Regions from separate parts of the Homo sapiens genome. Here regions 2, 3 and 4 are each linked to region 1. The links are contacts of gene promoters, found by promoter capture Hi-C in human tissues and cell types (Jung and others, 2019). All regions are on one chromosome and are shown on one strand. The core of a region is centred on a gene start or on the middle of the fragment in contact, and the rest is flanking DNA. Distances in the headings are between cores, read along the strand shown. Region 1 holds the start of CCDC110 (coiled-coil domain containing 110). Region 2 has its middle 26 kb from the start of TLR3. Region 3 has its middle 44 kb from the start of TLR3. Region 4 overlaps FAM149A (family with sequence similarity 149 member A).

Region 1 (2,700 bases), core at 56-2,555:
TTAAAAATTGTGGTACTGTTATTTTTAAAAATTTTCCCCCCTGAATATTTTCCATCTGTGGTTGGTTGAATCCAAGGATGCGGAACTCCCAGATACCGAGGGCTGACTGCATATCGTTTTAGTGTGTGTCCAAAAAACTCAACAATTCTTACTTAGCATTCAGAGAAGCAACGGAGCGTAGCGTGGTGGTGAAGACAGGCAGTCCGGAGCCGCCCTGCTGAATGCCCGCTCCATTCCTCGCTGCCTGTGTGACCTTAGGGAGTTAACCTCTCTGTGCCCGTTTCCTTATCTGCAAAATGGGGATCGTGGTAGCACCCACCTCGTAAAAGTGTTGTGAGAATTAAACAGTTGATCCATTACGTGCTTAGAACAGCACTGGCACAAAGCGCGAGTGCCGTGGTGGCTGCTGTCCGTGTCATCACGGCCGTGGGAAGCACGCCAGGTGAGCAGGTGGCACAGGCCAGATGCTGCCGCCTGTGTATAGTTAAAGGAGCCTTTTACGGTCTGGCGATTTTACCTGTGTCACTGCAGCCACTTTCCTTCACCCCCTCCGAAGAATTTAGGATCTTGGACGCTGAAAGGAGAACGGAGTCAACTTCATCCTCTTCCCGGTGCTGCTTTTCTGTAACAGAACCGTCCGGGGCTGTTCTGTCGCGGGTCGTGGCGTGGCGGGGCTGAAGGTGGGGGCGGGGCAGAGGGATGGGGCGGGGCAGGGCTAACGGCTGGGGCGGGGCGGAGGGAATTAGGAGGGGGCGGGGCTGAAGGCTGGGGCGGGGGGGCGGGGAGGGCGGGGAGGGCGGGGCGGAGGGAATTAGGAGGGGGCGGGTTTGAAGGCTGGGGCGGGGCGCAGGGATGGGATGGGGCGGAGAGACTGGGCGGGACCTGTGGGGGCAGAGGAATGGGGCGGGGTCAAGGCTGAAGGCTGGGGCGGGGCGGAGGGATGGGGCGGAGGGACGGCATCAGGCCGGGCCTGGGGCGGGGCGCGGCGCTTTCCGCAAGCGGCCACCCGAGGGCGCGCTGGGCGGGCGGCGGCGGCAGACCACGTAGCCAGCCTGTAAGCCACAGCGGACGCAGGGGGCCGCAGCGGGTGCTCAGCCCTAGGGCCGAGCGGGAGATGTGCGGCGAGTGCAGAAGGGCGGACCCGGGATGTCCCGGGTTTTCGAGCGGGGAGCCGCCTGCTGAATGCCCTTCTGCTGCCCTCCGTTCCCGCGGCTCCCCTAGGAGCCCCGCCCCGTCCAACTCTTACCCGGGCTCATCGCCGCGGCTCATCTCTCTCGCAACCGCCGCCGCACGCACCCGCTCCGCCGCCCCGCGCAGGGCATCCTGTCGCCAGGTAACCGGGTGGCCGGGGCGCCGGCCCCACCCCCACCCTCGGCGGCGCGCGCTCGGCTGGGGTCCCTGGTGGGGTCCCGGTGGGTCCCTCCTCACTCCGGACGCTTCCCCGAGAGCTTCCCTGGGAACCTGGCCTGGGACAGCCCACCTGGGCGCCTCCCCGCACACGCGCGCGGCTGTCCGGGACGGGCTTGCTCACACTCGGACTCGCTGCGGTACCCGCCGGACCAAAGCGGTGCGGAGAAAGGGACCGCCCGGGGACGGACACACGCCTGAGAGCTTTCCCTTTGCCTTTCCACATCTCCACTTCATCGCTGTTGTTTTTTTTTTTTAATTCTTAGTCCTCTCATTTCAGCGCATCCCTCAGAGGAGTTTCAGCATTTGGGGATTTGAACGGCCCATGACCAATATTGTGAAAGGACTTTTGTTTGCTGCAATGAAAAGAAGACTCCTATTTTTCAATAATGAATTAACCTAAACATGTATTAAAATATGCTCATGAAAGCTGTGGGAAGCGACGGTGGGCTTCCTTTGTCTAAGCATGTTAATTTTTACGCACCTGGTGTATCACGTGCAGGATTGATGTTGCGTTCACGGGAAACCTGACCTCCTTTAACCAAGGACTGGGTGCGTGCCCCCAGCTAATCCTCCTGCCCATCAGAAAATGGTGCTCTTTAAAGTTTTAAACGAGTATATATTATTTATTTTGTAGTAAACCATCACACATAGAAAATTAAAATTCAAAATCACAATCACCAGGATATCATAATTTGCTATATAATAACATATAATATATAATAAGTAATACATGATGGCTTGCTTTCATTGAAATGAAACTTCTTATGATAGTTTCAGTGCTTACTTCCTCTAATTTGTTTCTTATAGAAATGGGCTCTAGTGCACGCGCCTGTAATCTCAGCTACTCAGGAGGCTGAGGCAGGAGAATCGCTTGAACCCAGGAGGCGGAGGTTGCAGTGAGCCGAGATGGCGCCACTGTGCTCCAGCCTGGGCAACAGAGCCAGACTCCGTCTCAAAAAAACAAAAAAAAACAAACAAAAAAAAAAAAAAGAAAAGAAATGGGCTCTAGGTCCGGCATGATGGCTCACACCTGTAATCCCAGCACTTTGGGAGGCCGAGGCGGGTGGATCACCTGAGGTCAGGAGTCCGAGACCAGCCTGACCAACATGGTGAAACCTTGTCTCTACTAAAAATACCAAAATTAGCCAGGTATGGTGGAGTACATTCGTAATCCCAGCTACTCGGGAGGCTGAGGCAGGAGAATCACTTGAACCCAGGAGGCAGAGGCTGCAGTGAGTCGACATAGTGCAACTGCACTCCAGCCTGGGCCACAGAGCGACACTCTGTCTC
Region 2 (2,700 bases), core at 159-2,658, 570 kb after region 1:
CTGCAATCCCAGAACTTTGGGAGGCCAAGGTGGGTAGATCGCCTGAGGTCAGGAGTTTGAGACCAGCTTGGCCAGCATGGTGAAACCCCGTCTCTACTGAAAATATAAAAGTTAGCTGGGTGTGGTGGCAGGTGCCTATAATCCCAGCTACTTGGGAGGCTGAGGCAGGAGAATTGCTTGAACCCAGGAGGCAGAGGTTGCAGTGAGCTGAGATCACACCACTGCACTCCAGCCTGGGTGACAGGGGGAGACTCTGTCTAAGAAAAAACAAACAAACAAACAAACAAATACCATTATACTGAGTGAAAGAAGCCACGTAATATATTATTCTATCTATTGGAAATTCCAGAAATAGGCAAAAACTTACCTGTGGTAAAAAAGATATCAGAACAGCAGATGCTTCTGGGAGAAGGTGTCTGGGGAATACTGGCAGGGAATGAGCTAGAGAACTTCCTGGACCAAAGCAATAACGTTTCTATCTCTTCTTTTTTTTTTTTTTTTTGGAGACAGGGTCTCACTCTGTTGTCCATGCTGGAATGCAGTGGTGTGGTCACAGTTCACTGCAGCCTCAACCTCCTGGGTCAAGTGATCCTTCTGCCTCAGTCTCCCAAGTAGCTAGGACCACAAGCATGCACAACCACACCCAGCTAATTTTTGCATTTTTTTGTAGAGACAGGGTTTTGCCATGTTGCCCAGGCTGCGTTCTATATTTTAATGATGTGTTCATTTATCCACATTGATCAAGTGAAAACTTAAGATTTATGCATTTTCATTGCATGTAAATATTATCTAAAAAACACTTTAAACAAATATCCAACTCTACTTAACGATGTGCCTTGGGAAGACTAGGAGTGAAGTATATAGATGTCTGAAATTTACTTTCAAATGCATCAAACAACAAGACGGATTAAGAGAGGGATGGATAGATGGATGATTATGTGGTAAAGCAAATACAGTAAAACGTTAATTGTGCACTTAATCTTAGCCAAACGGCCGAGAAGCGATAAACGTTAATTGTGGAAGCTAAGGAATGGTATGTGGGTGTTCCCTGTACAATTTTTTCAGCTCTTCTATATGGTTGAACTGTTGGAAAATGGTGAATATAAAGAATCTCAGTGAATGTTCTGAAAGAAAGTCAATTTCTTTGTAATTGGATATGTAACTTAGAATGTCATTAATAGAATTTGAAGGACCAAACTCGAAGTTTAAAATAGAGGTGAGATTTTTAAAAAGGAATCGTGAAGTTTATCACCTCATTTATTCTGAGAAGCAGTTTATTATTTCAAGGTTTCACTGACAACCATAAACACTTGCGCAGATCCATGATGGTACCTCCCAGCTGTGAAATACACATATATGAACACACACATACACACAGAATTGATACCATGATGGTACCTCCCACCTGTGAAATATACATATATGAACATACACATGCACACAGAATTCGTACCATGATGGTACCTCCCAGCTGTGAAATACACATATATGAACATACACATGCACACAGAATTCATACCATGACGGTACCCCCCACCTGTGAAATACACATATATGAACATACACATGCACACAGAATTCGTACCATGATGGTACCGCCCACCTGTGAAATACACATATATGAAAATACACATGCACACAGAATTCGTACCATGATGGTACCGCCCACCTGTGAAATACACATATATGAACATACACATGCACACAGAATTCGTACCATGATGGTACCGCCCACCTGTGAAATACACATACATGAACATACACATGCACACAGAATTCGTACCATGATGGTACCTCCCACCTGTGAAATATACATATATGAACATACACATGCACACAGAATTCGTACCATGATGGTACCTCCCACCTGTGAAATACACATATATGAACATACACATGCACACAGAATTCATACCATGATGGTTCCGCCCACCTGTGAAATACACATATATGAACGTACACATGCACACAGAATTCATACCATGATGGTTCCGCCCACCTGTGAAATACACATATATGAACGTACACATGCACACAGAATTCATACTAACATTGCCAAAGTCCAGAACAACATATTTTAATAACTCTTCCGTGTACATCTGCATCTTCTTTCTTCCACAAGATGCTGATTTTCAAGGATGCAGATGATAGAATATTCAATGATTATTTATGTTCTTTATCCCGCATCATGCACAGTGTGCTGACTGTGAATATTTGGGTGTATATGCATATGAATGTCTGCCACATGTGATGTCAGAGGTAGAGACTACTTTACCACTTTCACATTTGGTAAACTCATAGGAAAGATGGCAAAAGGGGCCGGGCGCAGTGGCTCACGCCTGTAATCCCAGCACTTTGGGAGGCTGACGCAGGTGGATCACTTTCATGCGCGTCCGTGTGAAGAGACCACCAAACAGGCTTTGTGTGAGCAACAAGGCTGTTTATTTCACCTGGGTGCAGGCGGGCTGAGTCCGAAAAGAGAGTCAGCGAAGGGAGATAGGGGTGGGGCCATTTTATAGGATTTGGGTAGGTAAAGGAAAAAGGGGGGTTGTTCTCTGACAGGTAGGAGTGGGGGTCACAAGGTGCTCAGTAGGGGAGCTTTTGAGCCAGGATGAGCCAGGAGAAGGAATTTCACAAGACAATATCATCAGTTAAGGCAGGAACAGGCCATTTTCACTTCTTTTGTGGTGGAATGTCATC
Region 3 (2,700 bases), core at 12-2,511, 550 kb after region 1:
GCCTGGGTTTGTTCACAGACTGATCCCCAGACTCCAACGCCTGGGACTTGACACCTTCTGCTAAAACTCTTCTCTACATTCAACGTGCCGCAGGCTCACCTTTCACAAAACGACTAGATTTTGGCTGATGAGCCCTGTTCCCGTGGGCGTCTGACTGTAGTGAGTCCTTGTTTGGGCTGCACCGTTCCTGTCTCGGCACCGATGTAGTCGACCGTCCAGGTGAGGCCGAACCAGGAGAGCTTTGGCAGCGGTGAAGCCTCTCCATTCTTTCCAGACCAGTGCTGAAATACACCCCAGTGGTTCCAACAAATAAACTAATATCCAGACATCCACCCCTCCAGGGACAACAAATATAGAGGTTAATACAAATATTGAGAGGACAGGTGGGGCGTGGTGGCTCATGCCTGTAATCCCAGCACTTTGGGAGGCCGACGCAGGTAGATCACTTGAGGTCAGGAGTTTGAGAGCAGCCTGGCCAACATGGTGAAACCCTATCTCTAGTAAAAATACAAAAATTAATCATGGTGGCAGGCACCTGTAATCTCAGCGACTCGGGAGGCTGAGGCAGGAGAATTGCTTGAACCCAGGAGGCAGAGGTCGCAGTGAGCCGAGATCACGCCACTGCACTCCAGCTGCAGCCTAGGGCCGAGTGAGACCCTGTCTCCAAAAAACAAAACAAACAAAAAATAAAAAAAAAAAATAAAATAAAAATAAATATTGAGAGGACAAATATGAAAGAAAGCAGATTAGATATTGGCATCAAGCTTTTTAAAGAAAAAAATACTGATTTTATTCAAATGCAGCGAAGTTTCTATTATTAATACTGCCACCGCAGAACCCGCTGACCTTGCGAAATGCTGGGTTCACCTGCAGGACGCAGACACAGAGTTCACTGTGGCTAAGACCAGGTCAGCCTATGGGATCTAGAGAGTTCTGATCCAGGCAAACTCTTCCAGGAAATGGAACTGTGTATCAGAGAATGAGAAATAGAAGGAACACTTTTCTGTGAATGCCTCTTTACTGTCTCAGTATAGAAAACTTACACAAAATTCAAGAAGCAACTCAAATAACTCTGCCTCCTCATGCCCCTGCCTGCTACTTATTCAGATGCACGTTCCCACCGTGTTTCTCCCACTCTCGGGGCGGCACTCATGACTCTATGACGCTCGTTTCTGTGCCTTGCCTCCCCCAGGATTGTGAGCGAGGGTAAGACAAGGATTGTGCCTCATTCATCTCAGTATCTCAGCTCTTCGTAGAGTGATGTGCAAATAGTAGGCCCTTCAAAGATGCGCGGAGTTAACACAGAGTTCATTTCTGAAGCTTTTGGCAGCATGGATGCTGTTGATCCCTTGCTGGGAGGGAACTAAACTTCAGACCACCCATGTGGGATCTTGAAACAGAAACAGGGAATCCTGTTTTCACTTCATATGTAGATGGCTTTACAAAGATGTCACTCCCACCTTAGCAAGGAGGAAAAGCCATGTGATCTTCACAGTGCCAACTTTTCTTGAGCACTTCAGAAAGCTGAGGTTGCAAGGCAAGCAAGTGAAGTCAGTTCTGAGGAGTGACAGGTCCCTCGGGGAGAATCGGGCCGCACAGATGGTTTCACCCTTGGCAGAGTGTGAGAGGAGGGTGGATGGAGCAGCCGTAAAAGCAGGTTGGAAGAAAACAGCCAGGATGGGCCGGGTGCGGTGGCTAACGCCTGTAATCCCAGCACTTTGGGAGGCCGAGGCAGGCGAATCACAAGGTCAGGAGTTCGAGACCAGCCTGGCCAACATGGTGAAACCCCATCTCTACTAAAAATACAAAAATTAGCTAGGCATAGTGACAGGCGCCTGTAATCCCAGCTACTCGGGAGGCTGAGGCAGGAGAATCGCTTGAACCCGGGAGGCGGAGGTTGCATGAGCCGAGATCACGCCGCTGCACTTCAGTCCGGGGGGCGACAGAGTGAGAGTCCGTCTCAAAAACAAAAAAAGCAAAACGAAACAAAACAAACAAAAACAAAACAAAAAACCCAGCCAGAATGTAGCAAATTCTTAAAGTCTGAGTGTGAGCTTGTGTGCTAGATGGTTGAGAAAGCCCCGGTGGGCCTGAGACACAAGGAGAACCTGCATTCACCTAGTGTTAGCTCTTTCCACCATCTCCACTGTGTGCTCCTGAGGAAGATCTGGACAGGGAAGGACAATCCAGCTACTGTCCCTGACACAGATACTGCTTCAGGGGAGGGGAAGAAGCAAAAGCGCTGTTTGTCCTTGGGGGAAGACCTGGAAAATACTCAGGTGCAAGATCCTGTGATGGATGCAAAGCGAAGGCGGTTACCATGGGGAAGGGAGCTGGGAAGCTTTGCAAGCAGGAGGAATAGCTGCTGGGCAAAGTGACACCACTTTGTGGAAAGCTCACTATCACCACCTTCCTCTCAGCCCCTACAAGCCCAGAGAACAGGCAAAGTGCTTTGGCGGAGGTGTCTAGAAGAATCTAGTGCTTCTGTCACCAGGTGTGTGAAAATATCTCAACTCCTCACAAGGTCCACTGCCTTGCGCTGCTCATTTTCAATTAGCAATAATCATGCCTTGGATAAACCTCATTGGCTATGATACAGCCACTGCAGAGAGCTATGCTGTTCATTTTCTTCACCTAAGACTCACAAAGCAGGGGATGGGGGGCAGTCAGACCTTAGCTACAAGAGGCTGGGAAGTGTAA
Region 4 (2,700 bases), core at 21-2,520, 660 kb after region 1:
ATCCATTCTTCTGTTGATGGACATTTGGGTTGCTTCCCTCTTCAGCTGTGTGAACAATGCTGCTATGAACATTTTTTAGAGATGGGGTCCTGCTCTGTCACTCAGGCTGGAGTACAGTGGCGTGATCATAGCTCACTGCAACCCTGACCTCCTGGGCTCAGGTGATCCTCCTGCCTCAGCCTCCCAGAGTACCAGGGAGGACAGGCATGTGCCACCACACCTACCTACTTTTTAAATTTTCTGTAGAGACAGGATCTCCCTGTATTGCCCAAGGTGGTCTCGAACTCCTGGCTCAAGTGATCAGCCCACCTCAGCCTCCCAAAGTGTTGGGATTACAGGTATGAGCCACTGCACCTGGCCTGTGTCCCTGCTTTTAATTCTTTCAGTGTATACCAAGAAGTGGGATTGCTGGATCCTATGGTAATTTTGTGTTTCACTTTTGAGGAATCACAAACGATTTTTTTATACTAGCTGCACCATTTTACGTTTCCACCGGTGATGCACGAGGATTCCCATTCCTCTACATCTTCACCAAAACTTACTTTCTTTATCTCTTTTTAAACAGCCACTCTAATGAGTTTAAAATGGAGGACTGATCTTTTTTACATTTTTTGGCAAGGGCTTCCAGACAGCATCGTGCGATGCTGTTGAAGATAGACACATCCCAGCCTCAGAGATTAAACCTGAGCAATTATGATCTTTATTTTCTTCTTTTGCAACATTTTAGACTGGTATTTTCCTGGGTCTGAAATAGGAAGAAAGCTGCATGTGAAGCATGTTCATGGCTGACTCTGTACTAGGTGCCGCAGCAAGGACAGGAAGAGCCTTTTGCTTTTTTAGGTGCATGAGAAAGACAGCGAGAACACAGTCATCCTGAGAGTGTCTGGCAGCCTGAGTTCTCCTTTCAGCTTTGGTCAGCTGAGAGCCCTGGATCACCAAGTAAAGAGGAACCTCTGTGCTCTCCCAAATGTCTTCGTTAGTCAGACCTAGGTTTTCCCTGGGTATCCTGCATTGCCCTAGAATCTGACAGTTTTGTTGTTTTACATTTAGAAAGGGTGTTCTGCTGGTGTTCCCACCCAAAGATGGAATAGGATTTACTTACAATTAAAGCTGTTGAGGGAAAGCCTAGCAGCCTCGTGTGCTGCAGGTTTGCAGGAATCTGGATTCTGGTCCCTGGCCTTCACCAAGCAGCAGCAGGCCTGCCCTTCTGAGACCTCGCTTTTTCTTCTCTGGAATACGAAGGCTTTCATTAGTTCCTCTACTCCTTCAAACATTGATTAAAGGTGTGCTGAGGCTAGGGTGACACAATTCAATATGACGCAGTTCCTGGGCTCAAGCAGTTTTTTAGGTGGGAATGCGTTGGGAGGACAGAATGTATAACAGATGAATCAGGGCGGTGGCTCTCGAAGTGCCATCCTGGGCCGCAGTACCAGCAGCACGTGGGATCCTGAGAAATCCACATTCGCACTGCAGACTTGCTGCACCAGAGACCGGGGTGGGGCCCAGCAACCTGGGTTTTTACGAGCTCTCTGGTGATCCTGCTGCATGTTACAATTTGAGAACCACTGAATTCAATTCTGACCTGACAAACTGCAGTGCAGACATAAGACAGCGGGCACCACCCCTTTGCCTCTACTCTCACGTTTTTTACTTTAGATTGTGTATTAAACATAAAATGCATGCAATCTCCCAATTCTAGTGTTCTGAAATTCCATCTGTATGTCTTGAAATTTAGTAAGAGATTTATGAAGACATTGTGTTGTAATGTCATATACATATGAGTGGTGGTAGAGGTAATAATCAGTTCTCATTATCCCTGGTAGTCATGGTCTGTGAAGTCACCGGAAACCATGATGTAGTGAATACTGAACCATAGCTGCAGAGGAAATACAGGGTTCGCGTCCTGTGAGTCTCCAGTCTCAACATTTTTGTCAACTGATCGATACCTGAGCTTGTCTAATGTGTGTTCGTGTTGAAAGACACCTCATTTAATATATAGTAGCGACTTGCTAACATTGAACTCACCGACAGCGCTGTCTATACCTCGTGCCTGAAAGCTGATCAACATACGTATTTCCTTCTCAAGGCACACCACAGCCTTCTGGCGCTTAGGAACACTCGGCAGCTTTAGCACAGCACTCCAAGACCACTTTACACAGCCAGATCACCCACAACAAGCACAACAATTTGGAAGACCTGTGACAGCACTGAATAGACCCACAAAAGTGCACACTTGTTGACAGCGTGAGAGCTGAAACAAGGCAGGGTCGCCTTGTGTGACCGCAGCGGGGAGCACGCAGTTGAAGGGACTCAGGTGTGTCATTGTTCTGCACATGTGCGGAGGGGCATGGAGGCACCACGCGTGTGGAGTTGGGGCTTACAGATGTATTTTAGCAAGTAGGTGAATTTGCAGAGGGTGAACCAGAGAATAATAAGGATCAATTGCATCTTAATATTTCAGTTACATAAAATCTAATGTACAACAGTGGTCTAGCAATTACTACGAAGTCTTTGTTTTCTGCTGTGCTGTTTAAAAGAGTAAATCAAACATTGAAAAACACATTTTAGGAAAATTTGGCCTTATTGATGTTGCAGTTTGCCCAATTGAACTCTTCATAGAATATGTTTGGATAGTTATTTTTATGTTGAAAGACTGTTTAATTATCAGAATTTTTGTAAAACAGTTTTTAGATTATTCTT

What was found. The method cuts DNA at HindIII sites, captures the fragments that hold promoters and counts their contacts. A contact is called where the count stands out against the background at its distance.
Region 2: a fragment that was not itself captured here is called in contact with the fragment with the promoter of CCDC110 in region 1 in 2 of the 25 tissues and cell types used here (H1 embryonic stem cells and aorta).
Region 3: a fragment that was not itself captured here is called in contact with the fragment with the promoter of CCDC110 in region 1 in 1 of the 25 tissues and cell types used here (dorsolateral prefrontal cortex).
Region 4: a contact is called between a fragment that was not itself captured here and the fragment with the promoter of CCDC110 in region 1, in 1 of the 25 tissues and cell types used here (heart left ventricle).

What each region holds. Positions count from the first base shown.
Region 1 is chr4:185,470,428-185,473,127 of GRCh38, forward strand. CCDC110 (coiled-coil domain containing 110) reads right to left here and starts at 1,306. Exons shown (of 7, transcript NM_152775.4): 1 at 1,247-1,306; 2 at 518-622. The coding sequence starts at 1,256. It overlaps LOC105377590 (a long non-coding RNA gene), which reads left to right and starts at 1,004. Exons shown (of 2, transcript NR_133944.1): 1 at 1,004-1,333; 2 at 1,688-1,836. RefSeq lists a silencer at 891-1,520. The HindIII fragment of the contact is 7,773 bases long and covers 1-2,700 here.
Region 2 is chr4:186,041,640-186,044,339 of GRCh38, forward strand. No RefSeq gene overlaps it. Among named protein-coding and RNA genes, the nearest start is that of TLR3, 26 kb to the right of the region's middle. The HindIII fragment of the contact is 6,003 bases long and covers 1-2,700 here.
Region 3 is chr4:186,023,973-186,026,672 of GRCh38, forward strand. It overlaps the pseudogene RNU4-64P. Among named protein-coding and RNA genes, the nearest start is that of TLR3, 44 kb to the right of the region's middle. The HindIII fragment of the contact is 3,937 bases long and covers 1-2,700 here.
Region 4 is chr4:186,133,596-186,136,295 of GRCh38, forward strand. The region is part of intron 1 of FAM149A (family with sequence similarity 149 member A); the gene reads left to right. Among named protein-coding and RNA genes, the nearest start is that of FAM149A, 30 kb to the left of the region's middle. RefSeq lists an enhancer at 588-747. The HindIII fragment of the contact is 5,745 bases long and covers 1-2,700 here.